Linked DNA regions of Homo sapiens: regions 2 and 3 are each linked to region 1. The links are contacts of gene promoters, found by promoter capture Hi-C in blood cells and fetal thymus (Javierre and others, 2016). All regions are on one chromosome and are shown on one strand. The core of a region is centred on a gene start or on the middle of the fragment in contact, and the rest is flanking DNA. Distances in the headings are between cores, read along the strand shown.

Region 1 (3,632 bases), core at 1,133-3,632:
ACATCCTACGCGGAGCTAGTGTCACAGTGAGGCCGTTTCTGGAAACTAACCTGGGGAACCAGCGCACCTGCTAGGCTCACCTTGAGGAAGCGCCGATAGCCTCGCACAGCTGTCTCAGGCAGTGGGTGTGAGCGCAGGAAGCGCAGATACAGGGGCCAAATTCGAGAGTGCTGCGTGATGGGCAGTGCCCGGAGGGCACGGTCGAAGGTGCGGCGGGTGTGTGTGACGCGCCCCTGGTCCATGAGGAACTGGCAGTAATCTAGCCACAGACGAGGCATCTGGGGGTGTGGGGAGAGGCGGCTGGGGCTAAGCCACGGACTCCATGGCCTGGCCACAGACACTCGATGTCCTGTGGCTGAGCCACACCTGGGGCCACCACATAAATGCGGCGGGACCCAGAAACCCCCAGCTCCAGGACTGAGTCCAGCCCAACTTCCCATGCAAAGAAGCAACAGGAATCCAAGCCCCCATCCCTAACATGCTGAGCCCAGCCCCTGTCCCCGCCCCACCCACCACCATGGACTGAGCTCCACTTCCCGATTCATCCCCTCGCCGAGCCCCAAACCTTGTGCATGAACACAAAGGCCCTCTCATGACAGTTGTTGACATCTTCATAGGCAGGGTCGGTCACACAGCGATGCTTCACCTGTGCCCGACGCGCCTTCAGGTATCGGTACCAGAGTTTGTAGCTGGGGAATAGGAGGGGACAGATGCTGATCGGTCAGCTTTATGGACACCCCCAGAACCATTTGCCCTGCCCCAGTTGGCAAATGTGGGAAGAAGGGGTGTGGGAGGGGTGACATGTCTCAGCAATGACAGGGACAGACTGGGACATCAGAGAAGGTGTGCTGACCCATCAAGGGATGTACAGGTCAGTGATGAAACACGAAGCAATCACCCGGGACCCGGGACCCACTTGGCAGTTTTGTTATAACTGGACCAGGTGGGGTGGGGGCTGGTGGGCAGGGCAGCTGGAGCCATTCCCACCTGCAGGGCAGCAGCTTGAGTGCCCGCTCGTATAGCTGATTGAGCCTGGGCTTCGGGGCGCCCTGTTTGAACTCGATGTAGCGAAGCCAGCATTTGACAGAGAATTGGTTCCGCATGATTTCCTCCTCATAGGGGAGGTCCTCTTCCTCCTGCCAGGGCCAGGGAATGGGAAGAAGAGAGGCCTACCCTCAGAGCCTGTGTGCAGCACCATCCCACTGCTGGGGCTCAGGTCCAAACTCCGGACTTTTACCTAGATCCCACCACCCACCAAGGAAGTCAGGTCACCAGATGCCCAGGCACCAAACCAGATGCCCGACACCAAGACAGTGGCCCAGACCTTTACCCCTCAGAATTCAACTACCCAAAATCGAACCCAAATCATCAGACTTCTCAGTCATTAGGGCTCTGGGCCAGGAATGAGTCCGCATCACCACTCGCTTTCTGCCCCAGATGGTCAGACTCCTTAGATACCAAGGCCCTGGCCCAGATGCCAGTCCTGGACACCAGACCCCACTTCTTCAAAACGTGCCTCTTCCCAGACACCAGGCCTTTGGCCCCTCAGACTCCCACTGTCACCATCTGACCCATCTCCACCCCAGGCCCAGATGACCAGATCTTTACCCCAGCCACCAGGGCTCTCAGGTCCAGATTCCAAGCCACTAGCCCCGCCCCCAGGATCCCACTAGCCAGCGTCTAGCTCAACTCTGCCCCAGAAATTAAAAGCTAGGCCTTTATCTCACAGGAGGAGTTATACACCAGAAGCCAAGCCTTTAACTCTGCACACCAAGAATCTGGTGAAGATGTCACGCCTCTACTCCAGAGAGTAAGTATTTCACTGGCCATCGCCTGACAAGCTCCACATCACCAGGGTTCTTCTAGCCTGGCCACCACCCCAGAAACTGTCATGCTGCAGTCCAGGCCTAGAGACCGCTATCCAGAAAACCAAGCCTTCATCCCAGAAACCAGAACCCTGGCCTCGTAAGCAAGCCTTTACTTCAGACACCGATCTTCACCTCTCAAGGTTCAGTTATGCGATCTTCCTCCTCTCCCATTCCCTGCACGCCCCCATTTCCGCCCCTGGTTCGGGAGGCTAGACGCTTCCCTTCGACAGTGGTTTTCTACTCAGACCCGAAGATACAACACCATATTTTTACTCCTGGACAGTTCGGTGCGGACATGACGATCCGGTCTCTGGCCCATTAGGGTTCCCAGACCTTGGCCTGGCAGTTTCGGCCTAAATCTCCTTGCCGACCCAGCCTCGATCCCCTGCGGCGTCCAGGTCCCAATGCCCCAACGCAGGCCACCCCCGGCTCCTCTGTGGACTCACGAAGACAAGGTCCGGCCGCTCGGGCCGCGAGAGTCGCGCCATCACCACCATTTTTCTGGATGCCCAGGTACAGGAGAGAGTCGCGCGCTTATGACGTCTACCACTGACGGCCCGCCCCTCCGAGCCAGACCCGTTTTCTATTGGTTAAATCATTTTTGACGGACAGGCCCACGTTATTGACTTCTTTTCGACGACGCCAGCGACCGGAAGCAGAATAGAGGCGCCAGAAGATGCGCCATCAGGATACACATTGGCCAATCAGCTTCAGCAATGGAGCGTGCAAAACACCAGTGAGCTTCTGTCTTGCTGGAGGGTCGGCTTTGGGCGGAACTGGCTTTGTTGACCGGGAGAAACGAGATGGGGGTGAAGCTGGAGATATTTCGGGTCAGTGGACACAGGAGTGGGTTGGGAGGCTGGGCAGGGGATCTTCCTGGATCTGAAGATGAGGTTGGAAATGGGGGGACTTCAAAGGAAGAGGGAGCTCCAAGGAGAAAGCTCTTAAGATTTGAGAGGAACCTTTCTGGTTGGAAATCCAGGAGAGGGGACGCTGGGCTGGGGGGGTTCTCGGATTTGGGCTTCTGGGTTTGGGGGCTGTGAGAGGGCTGGTCCGAGGAAGGACCTCAGAGAGGGGTGAGCTGAGAAGGGGGCTCTAAAGAAGGAAGACTTAAGATCCTGGGGGAGCTCTCGGGCTCGTGGTGGGTGGGTGTCTATGACAGGGAGATTCCTAGACTTCGAGAAGTGGAGTTGAAGAGTGACGCCTCCTGGGTTTGGGGGTGCTCCCGGGATCTTAAGTGGGGATGGGTAATGAGGTCTCGAGGAGATGCTTTTGATTGTAGCTGGGGCGTCTGTGTGTCTGTCTGTGTTTGAGAGGAAGACTCCAGCTCAGAGGGAACTTTCAGGAATGAGGCCTCCTGGATTATAGGAGTTAGGTTTTAGGGTGCGAGGTTTCTGTACCCTTGGTGGGAGTTCTGGGATTCTTGGGTCGGCCGTAACGAGGCGCTTCTGGACTCTGCAGTAGGATGGGTCCCCCAGGCTCTGAGGAGCCTCTGCACATTGCTTGGGGGGAGCTCACCTCACCCACCCTCTGCCATTCCAGATGATAATCTACCTCACTTTCCCTGTGGCTATGTTCTGGGTTTCCAATCAGGCCGAGTGGTTTGAGGACGATGTCATACAGCGCAAGGTGGGCATAAGAGGAGTGTTTGAGGGTTCATTCCAGGGGTGGGAGAGGGTGTGGGGCAGCAGTCTGCTGGGGACTAATGTCTGCCTCCCATAAGCCGACCCTGCCCTGATGTGGGGCTCTGGAGGCCTTTGGCTC
Region 2 (3,632 bases), core at 701-3,200, 820 kb after region 1:
TGAGCTGAGATGGTGCCACTGCACTCCAGCCTCTGTGACAGAGCAAGACTGTCTCCAAAAAAAGAAAAAAATATATTATTGATAATCGCTGCATTGAAGGCCAGGCGCAGTGGTTTACGCCTACAATCGCAGCACTTTGGGAGCCTGAGGCAGGCGGATCACGAGGTCAGGAGTTCGAGACCAGCCTGACCAATATGATGAAACCTTGTCTCTACTAAAAATACAAAAGTTAGCCGGGCGTGGTGGCATGCACCTGTAATCCCAGCTACTCGGGAGGCTGAGACAGGAGAATCGCTTGAACCCAGGAGGCGGAGGTTGCAGCGAGCCGAGATGGCGCCATTGCACTCCAGTCTGGGCAACAAGAGCGAAACTCCGTCTCAAAAAGATAATCGCTGCATCTTACTGCCCAAGTTGCCACAAGCACACGTAACATCTGATGGTGCCAATTCGACTGTCTGCACTTGGAAAATGGCACATTGGAGGCTGCACAGCACCATAAAACTGATGCCACGAATGCACACAAAAATAAGACCATACAGCATTATGCCTAGTACAGAATACACCCTGAATTCTGTCACAGTTCACTTTATGCAACATTGCAAGAGTCCTCTCGCTCTTTATTATTATTTTTAATTTTTTTGAGATGGGGTCTCACTCTGTGACCAGGCTGGAGTGCAGTGGCCCGATCTTGGCTCACTGCAACCTCCTCCTCCTGGGTTGAAGCGATTCTCCTGCCTCAGGCTCCCCAGTAGCTGGGATTATGGGCGCCTGCCACCACACCCGGCTAATTTTTGTATTTTTAGTAGAGACAGGGTTTCATCATGTTGGCCAGGATGGTCTGATCTCTTGACCTCGTGATCCACCCGCCTTGGCCTCTCAAAGTGGTAGGATTACAGGCGTGAGCTGCCGCGCCCAGCCATTAATTTTTTTTTTAATTTTGTTTTTAACTTTTAGGTTTGGGGGTAAATGTGAAGGTTTGTTAAATAGGTAAACACTTGTCATGGAGGTTTGTTGTACAGATTATTTCATCACCCAGGTATTAAGCCCAGTACTCAATACTTATCTTTTTGTTTTTTGAGATGGAGTCTCAGTCTATCTCCCAGGCTGCGGTGCAGTGGCGTGATCTCGGCTCACTGCAACCTCCGGCTCCTGGGTTCAAGCGATTCTCCTGCTTCAGCCTCCCGAGTAGCTGGGATTACAGGCGCCCGCCACCACGTCCAGCTAATTTTTTTATTTTTAGTAGAGACGCGGTTTCACCATGTTGGCCAGTCTGGTCTCGAACTCCTGACCTCAGGTGATCCGCCGCCTCGGCCTCCCATACCCAAAGTGCTGGGATTACAGGAGTGAGCCATCGCGCCTGGCCCCATTATTAGTGAATTTTAACAGTTTTCCGTTTCTTCTGGACGAACTGTTTGCAATTATAATGCGAATTACGGATAATACTCTGATATTATTCCATGCCGTTCCGTTGTTGCCTACAAAGTTCGCGCTGGAGAACCGCGCAATTGCGTTACAAAAAGAAAAAAATCACACAAAAAGACACAATGTTTTAAGAAAGTTTACGAATCGTGTGCCGGACCGCGGGTTGAACAAGCTTCATCTAAAACTTCCAGGAATCTCTAGACAGGATCATTGCTTCCCCTCTGCTCCAGCTCTGGTTACAGAAAGCTGAGAGTGACTAGGTCTAGGTGTTTGTGTGGGGTGGGGTGGGGAGATGCCTCCTCTATCGGACTCAGAGGACGCGCGCCGGGAACAGCCAGTCGGTGCCTAACGCGAGTGTATCTCGAGAGAGAAGCGATCAACAGCTGCCGGTCTGCGCCTGCGCGCGGCGGGGGCGTGGCCCGGGGCGAGTGGGGCCAAGGAGGCAGCCGGGAGCGGCGGGCGCAGGTGTTACTGGTTGCGTCGGGTCACGTGGGCGCGCAGGCGCAGCGCGGTGCAGCCCGTTCGCTCACACAAAGCCCAGACGCGGAGAAAATGGCGGCAGGGGTCGAAGCGGCGGCGGAGGTGGCGGCGACGGAGATCAAAATGGAGGAAGAGAGCGGCGCGCCCGGCGTGCCGAGCGGCAACGGGGCTCCGGGCCCTAAGGGGTGAGTATCCCACGGTCCTTTGCCACGGGTAAGGGTTCCTCTCCGCGGCCGACGCGGGCGGCGGCTCCGTTAGGTCTGTTGGCGGCCTAGCCCCGGCGCGGCCTCGGCCCCGGCTGTTCCCGTACCGCCTGCTCAGGGTAGCGGCGTCTAGGGCCGTGAGCGGGGAGCCGGGGGAGCCTCCAGAATCGTCCCCTACACCGGGCCTCGAGCCTCGCCACCCTCAGTCCCTCCAGGCCGGGGCCAACCCCGTAGTCGAGGCCTCAGGCCCAGCTGCTGCGCATGGGGGTTGATGGCGCGGGCCCGGACCGGAGAGCCTCCGAGGCCTACCCGACCGCTCCCCGGGAGGGTGACCTCGGGGGCCGGGTTTCAGCCCCCCGTCCCCTCTCCTCCCGGGGTCTGTTTTCTGATCCGTAACGTGGGGGGAGGAGAGAGGGTGCGCGCCCGGGAGGCCTCGCGCGCAGTCAGCCCGAGTCAACGGTAACCGAGCGAGGGAAGCGTCAGGAAGGGCCGCGAAGCCGGGTCGGGGGGCTCCCCTCCTGCCCCGCCCCTTAGTCCCCGCGCGCCGACCGCGCTCCGCGGGAAGTGCCTCCCTCGGAACCGCCCCTCGCCCCACGCTCTGGCCCTGGCTCAAGTCCCTCGCCGTTTCCCGCTCCTCCTCCCCGGGTGCGCCGCAGGTATTAGTGGAGAGATGGGATCTGCTGCTTAGCGTTCACCCTCGGAAGCAGACAGATACGAAGTCGGGGGAGGAATCCCCTTTTTCCCGTGTTTCGGGGAAGCTGTTCTGTCAGGAGGCGGGTTCATTTACTTCCAGACTTCATCAGCTTTTCGAGTCCTGCTTGGGGCTCTTTGACTCCTTGGCTTTTAAAAGTTTCTTTAAAGGAGGAAGCATCGACTTGTGCCCCGGTGAAACTCATTCATTCTGATTACAGACACTTAAGAGAGACAGAGAGGTTTTGGCTCCAAGATCAGCGGCCGGGAAGGAAGGGGAAGCCTGGGTACACATTGAATTTCCCAGACATTTATTTCATTGTGGTAAAATAGACATAACGTAGACTTTGCCATTTTAACCATTTTTTAAGCGTATAATTCAGTGGCATTGAGTATACTGACTCAGTGTGCTGTAACCGTCACTGCTTCATGTCCAGAACTTTTTCATCATCGGAAACAGAAAGTGTAGCTATTAAATACTAACTCCCTCCGTTTTCTTTCCTTTCTGTCTGTGACTTTGCCTTCCTCATATTGTAATGTGTGAAGCTTAGTTTATGGAGATTAAAAGTGAATGCGGTTGAGCACTTATATATTTAATTTTTTTCTTTGAGACAGGGTCTCCCTCTGTTACCCAAGCTGGGATGCAGTGGCACGATCACAGATCACTGCAGCCTCGAACTCCTGGGCTCAATCGATCCTTCCATCTCAGCCTCCTGAGTAGCTGGGATCACAGGCGCGGCACCACCATGCCCGGCTAATTTTTTGAAGAGAGGAGGTCTCCGGGTGTTGCCCAGGCTGGTCTGAAACTCCTGGGTTCAAGCCATCCTCCTGCCTAGG
Region 3 (3,632 bases), core at 532-3,031, 780 kb after region 1:
TGTCATGGAGAGAAGGTAAGATTGATAAAATGTTCCAGAAAGAGAGACTAAATTAGAGTCGTTAACAACAAAATACAATGCTTGATCCTGGGATGGATTTGGGATTTTTTGTTTTTTGACACAGGATCTTGCTCTGTTGCCCAGGCTGGAATGCAGTGGTGAGGTAATGGCTCACTGCAGCCCAGAACTCCTGGGCTCAATTGATCCTCTCACTTCAGCCTCCCAAGTAGCTGGGACCACAGGAGGATGCCACCACAACTGGCTAATATTTTTATTTTATTTTGTAGAGATGGGGTCTCACTGTGCTGCCCAGACTGATCTCAGACTCCTAGACCCAAGAGACCTTCCTGCCTTGGGCTCCCAAAGAGCTGGGATTGCAGACATGACTCACTGTGCCTGGCCTGGACTTTGGATTTTTAAAGGACTTTATTGGAAACTTTTCTTTTCTTTTTTTTGAGACAGAGTCTGGCTGTGTTGCCCAGGTTAGAGTGCAGTGGCAAGATCTCCGCTCACTGCAACCTCCACCTTGCAGATTCAAGCAATTCTCCTGCCTCAGCCTCCTGAGTAGCTGGAATTACAGGTGCCCACAACAAAACCCAGCTAATTATTTGTATTTTTAGTACAGACAGGGTTTCACCATGTTGGCCGGGCTGGTCTCGAACTCCTGACCTCAAATGATCCAAGTGCTGGGATTACAGGCATGAGTCACTGCACCTGGCCTTTGAATGGGCTCTGGGAATTACATGATAATATTAGATGAACATTAATTTTCTGATTTTGAAGGTTATACTGTGATTATGTGCAAAAGTGTGCTTATACTAAGTGAACATATAGTGCAGTATTTTTTTAAAAATTGATCTGTCTTAGAGATGGGGGTGGGTGAGTTTACTATGTTGCCCAGACTGGCCTCGAACTCCTGGGCTCAAGTGATCCTCTTGCCTCAGCCTCCAGAGCAGCTGGGACTACAGGCCTGGGCCACCACACTTGGCTAACTTTTATTTTATTTTATTTTATTATTTATTTATTTATGTATTTATTTGAGACAGAGTCTCACTCTGTCACCCAGGCTGGAGTGCAGTGGCGCGATGTCGGCTCACTGCAAGCTCTGCCTCCCGGGTTCACGCCATTCCTCTGCCTCAGCCTCCCGAGTAGCTGGGACTACAGGCGCCCGCCACCACGCCCGGCTAATTTTTTTGTATTTTTAGTAGAGACGGGGTTTCACCGTGTTAGCCAGGATGGTCTCGATCTCCTGACCTCGTGATCCGCCCGCCTCGGCTTCCCAAAGTGCTAGGATTACAGGCGTGAGCCACCGCGCCCATCCTTTTAAATTTTTTGTAGAGACGGGAACTCACCATGTTGCCCAGGCTGGTCCCCAACATCTGGCCTCAAGCGATCCTTCCGTCTCGGCCTCCCAAAGTGCTCCGATTACAGGCATGAGCCACTGCACCCGGCCAGTCTCAAAAAAAAAAAAGTTAAATTCTGCAGAGGTTTTATTTATTAGAGGACGCTGGCCGTCTGCAGGTGGCGCAGCAGCACCCCCTCGTGCCTGGGGCGGGGCTGGGGCGGGGCCAGTGCTGGGGCGGAGCCGGAGCTGGGGGCGGAGCCAAGACGCGGCAGGGGCGGAGCCAGCAGCTGCGGCACAGCGGGGCCTGTGCGGCCCAAGTCGTCCCTGTGGCCTCCGGCCCCGCCTCTTAGGGCGGGACGTGCAAGGCGATTGGCGAATGCAGGCGAGAGGCGGTCGCTATTGGTCCGCGGCGCTGTCGGCTCGGCGGGCGGTGCCCGGACGCAGGTGCCGGCCGGAGCGGAGCTAGTGGCGCCGACGGGCCGGGCCGGGCCGGGACCGGGGCCGAGGCGAACCGAGGGGCCTGTGCGGCCGCCCGGCCCGGCCGCGGATCAGGTAGGCACGGGCCTGCAGGTAGGGCCGGAGGACGCCAGTCCGCGGGCCGGCCCCGGGTTCGAGGCCGGAGCTCGGCACCCGGGCGGGACGGCTGGGCTCGATCCCTTGGCCACAGCCTTCTCGGGGACGCGGGGACCTCAGTTCCCGTGTCAAGGCCGGTGGGAGGTCTCCGGGGTCCGGCACACATAGGCGCCTCTCCGAGCCTCGGTTTCCCCACCTGTGAAACTGGGTCATCCCATTGCCAACCTGATGGGGCTTCTGGGAGGATTCAGGAGGTGGCTGGTGCAGAAAACGCCTGACACACAGTAGGCAACTGCTAAGTGGCCAATGCCCTTCCCCAACCTCCTTCTCAGAGCGGCTCTGCCTGCAAAATAGTAAGTTATAATATAATGACCCAGCCACTTTGCACAAAGATGCTGAAACAGGATGCCCTGTGCTATGTGGGTGCTCAAAACGGGGTAGTCAAATGGGCATGTTGAGCTCATTCAGTTCTTTTGAAACCATACTGAGTAGGTGGAAGCAGTAGAAATGTCCCCTGTTATACAGTTGAGAGAGTCCAGGCTCAAAGAGGTTAAGTGTCTTGCCCAGGGCCACACAGCACATAAGGAGTAGAGCTGGGATTGGAACCTTGCTTCTCATGCAGGGAGGAATGAATGCAATAACAACCTCCACATTTACCCTAAAAAATATTAATAGAGCTTTTATTGAGCACTTACTGTGTGTGCCAGGGTTGACTGTGTGACCTCTCATCAACAACTCTGTAAGCTGATGATAGTAATTATAATAAGAGCTAATAGTTATTAACTTCTTAATTTTTTACTAATTTATGAACTACATATCATTATGACTCCCCGTCTTTTTTTTTTTTAGACAGAGTCTCTCTCTCTTGCCCAGGCTGGAATGCAGTGGCACGATCTGAGCTCATTGCAACCTCTGCCTCCCAGATTCAAGCGATTCCTACCTCACCCTGGTCAAGTAGTTGGGATTACAGGCCCCCGCCACCGTGCCTGGCCAATTTTTGTCTTTTTAGCAGAAACGGGGTTTCACCATGTTGACCAGGCTGGTCTCGAACTCCTGGCCTCAAGTGATCCACCTTCCTTGAACTCCCAAAGTGCACAAAGTGCTGGGATTACAGGCGTGAGCCACTGCGCCCGGCCTGTAACACTCATTTTAGAGATGATAATACTGAGGCTGAGAGAGTAAAACAGCTGCCTGAGACCACAATGTAGGGAGTTTTAGGGCCCTCTGATTCCTCTGCCCTCTGTTTCCTACCTTCAGGAAAAGGAGCCTGGGCAGGTATGGAAAAGACTGGGGGGCCTCAGTGCCACCCTAAACAAGCCTAGCTAAGGGTGAGCTTTACTGGATGAATTCAGCCTGGAGGCTCCTTCTCAGGAGACCCCTCCACGGACAGAGTCCACCAGCTCCATCATTAGAATGAGGCCCAGAGAAGCAAAGTGACTTGAACCAGGACACCCAGCATCGGTGGCATAGCCAGGAGGGCCAGGAGTTAAAGAACCCAGGTCTCTTGAGGTCCAGAACCACTCCCTGGACTGTTTTAAGTTCAAATTCTGACACCACCCCTTCCTAGCTATATGACCTTGGGAAAGTAGGTGCCTCTCTCCGAGCTTCAGCCTCTTTCCCCATCATAGGGTGTAATTATTGGTTTGTTGTGAAGACTCAATGAGATCTATCTCCAGGCCGGGCGTGGTGGCTCATGCCTGTAATCCCAACACTT

What was found. The method cuts DNA at HindIII sites, captures the fragments that hold promoters and counts their contacts. A CHiCAGO score of 5 or more calls a contact.
Region 2: the fragment with the promoter of HNRNPM here is called in contact with the fragment with the promoter of XAB2 in region 1 in 1 of 17 cell types (fetal thymus); the score reaches 6.2 in fetal thymus.
Region 3: the fragment with the promoter of MARCHF2 here is called in contact with the fragment with the promoter of XAB2 in region 1 in 1 of 17 cell types (non-activated CD4 T cells); the score reaches 5.2 in non-activated CD4 T cells.

Annotation. Positions count from the first base shown.
Region 1 is chr19:7,627,163-7,630,794 of GRCh38, forward strand. XAB2 (XPA binding protein 2) reads right to left here and starts at 2,383. Exons shown (of 19, transcript NM_020196.3): 1 at 2,315-2,383; 2 at 988-1,136; 3 at 566-689; 4 at 81-278. The coding sequence starts at 2,365. PET100 (PET100 cytochrome c oxidase chaperone) reads left to right here and starts at 2,631. Exons shown (of 4, transcript NM_001171155.2): 1 at 2,631-2,698; 2 at 3,411-3,497. The coding sequence starts at 2,672. It also overlaps a transcript of STXBP2 not described here. RefSeq lists enhancers at 2,295-2,414, 2,675-2,724. The HindIII fragment of the contact is 14,766 bases long and covers 1-3,632 here.
Region 2 is chr19:8,443,025-8,446,656 of GRCh38, forward strand. HNRNPM (heterogeneous nuclear ribonucleoprotein M) reads left to right here and starts at 1,951. Exons shown (of 16, transcript NM_005968.5): 1 at 1,951-2,087. The coding sequence starts at 1,975. RefSeq lists silencers at 1,710-1,989, 2,230-2,459. The HindIII fragment of the contact is 1,747 bases long and covers 1,593-3,339 here.
Region 3 is chr19:8,411,524-8,415,155 of GRCh38, forward strand. MARCHF2 (membrane associated ring-CH-type finger 2) reads left to right here and starts at 1,782. Exons shown (of 5, transcript NM_001005415.2): 1 at 1,782-1,897. RefSeq lists enhancers at 242-536, 1,407-1,907 and silencers at 1,399-1,758, 1,789-1,948. The HindIII fragment of the contact is 7,216 bases long and covers 1-3,632 here.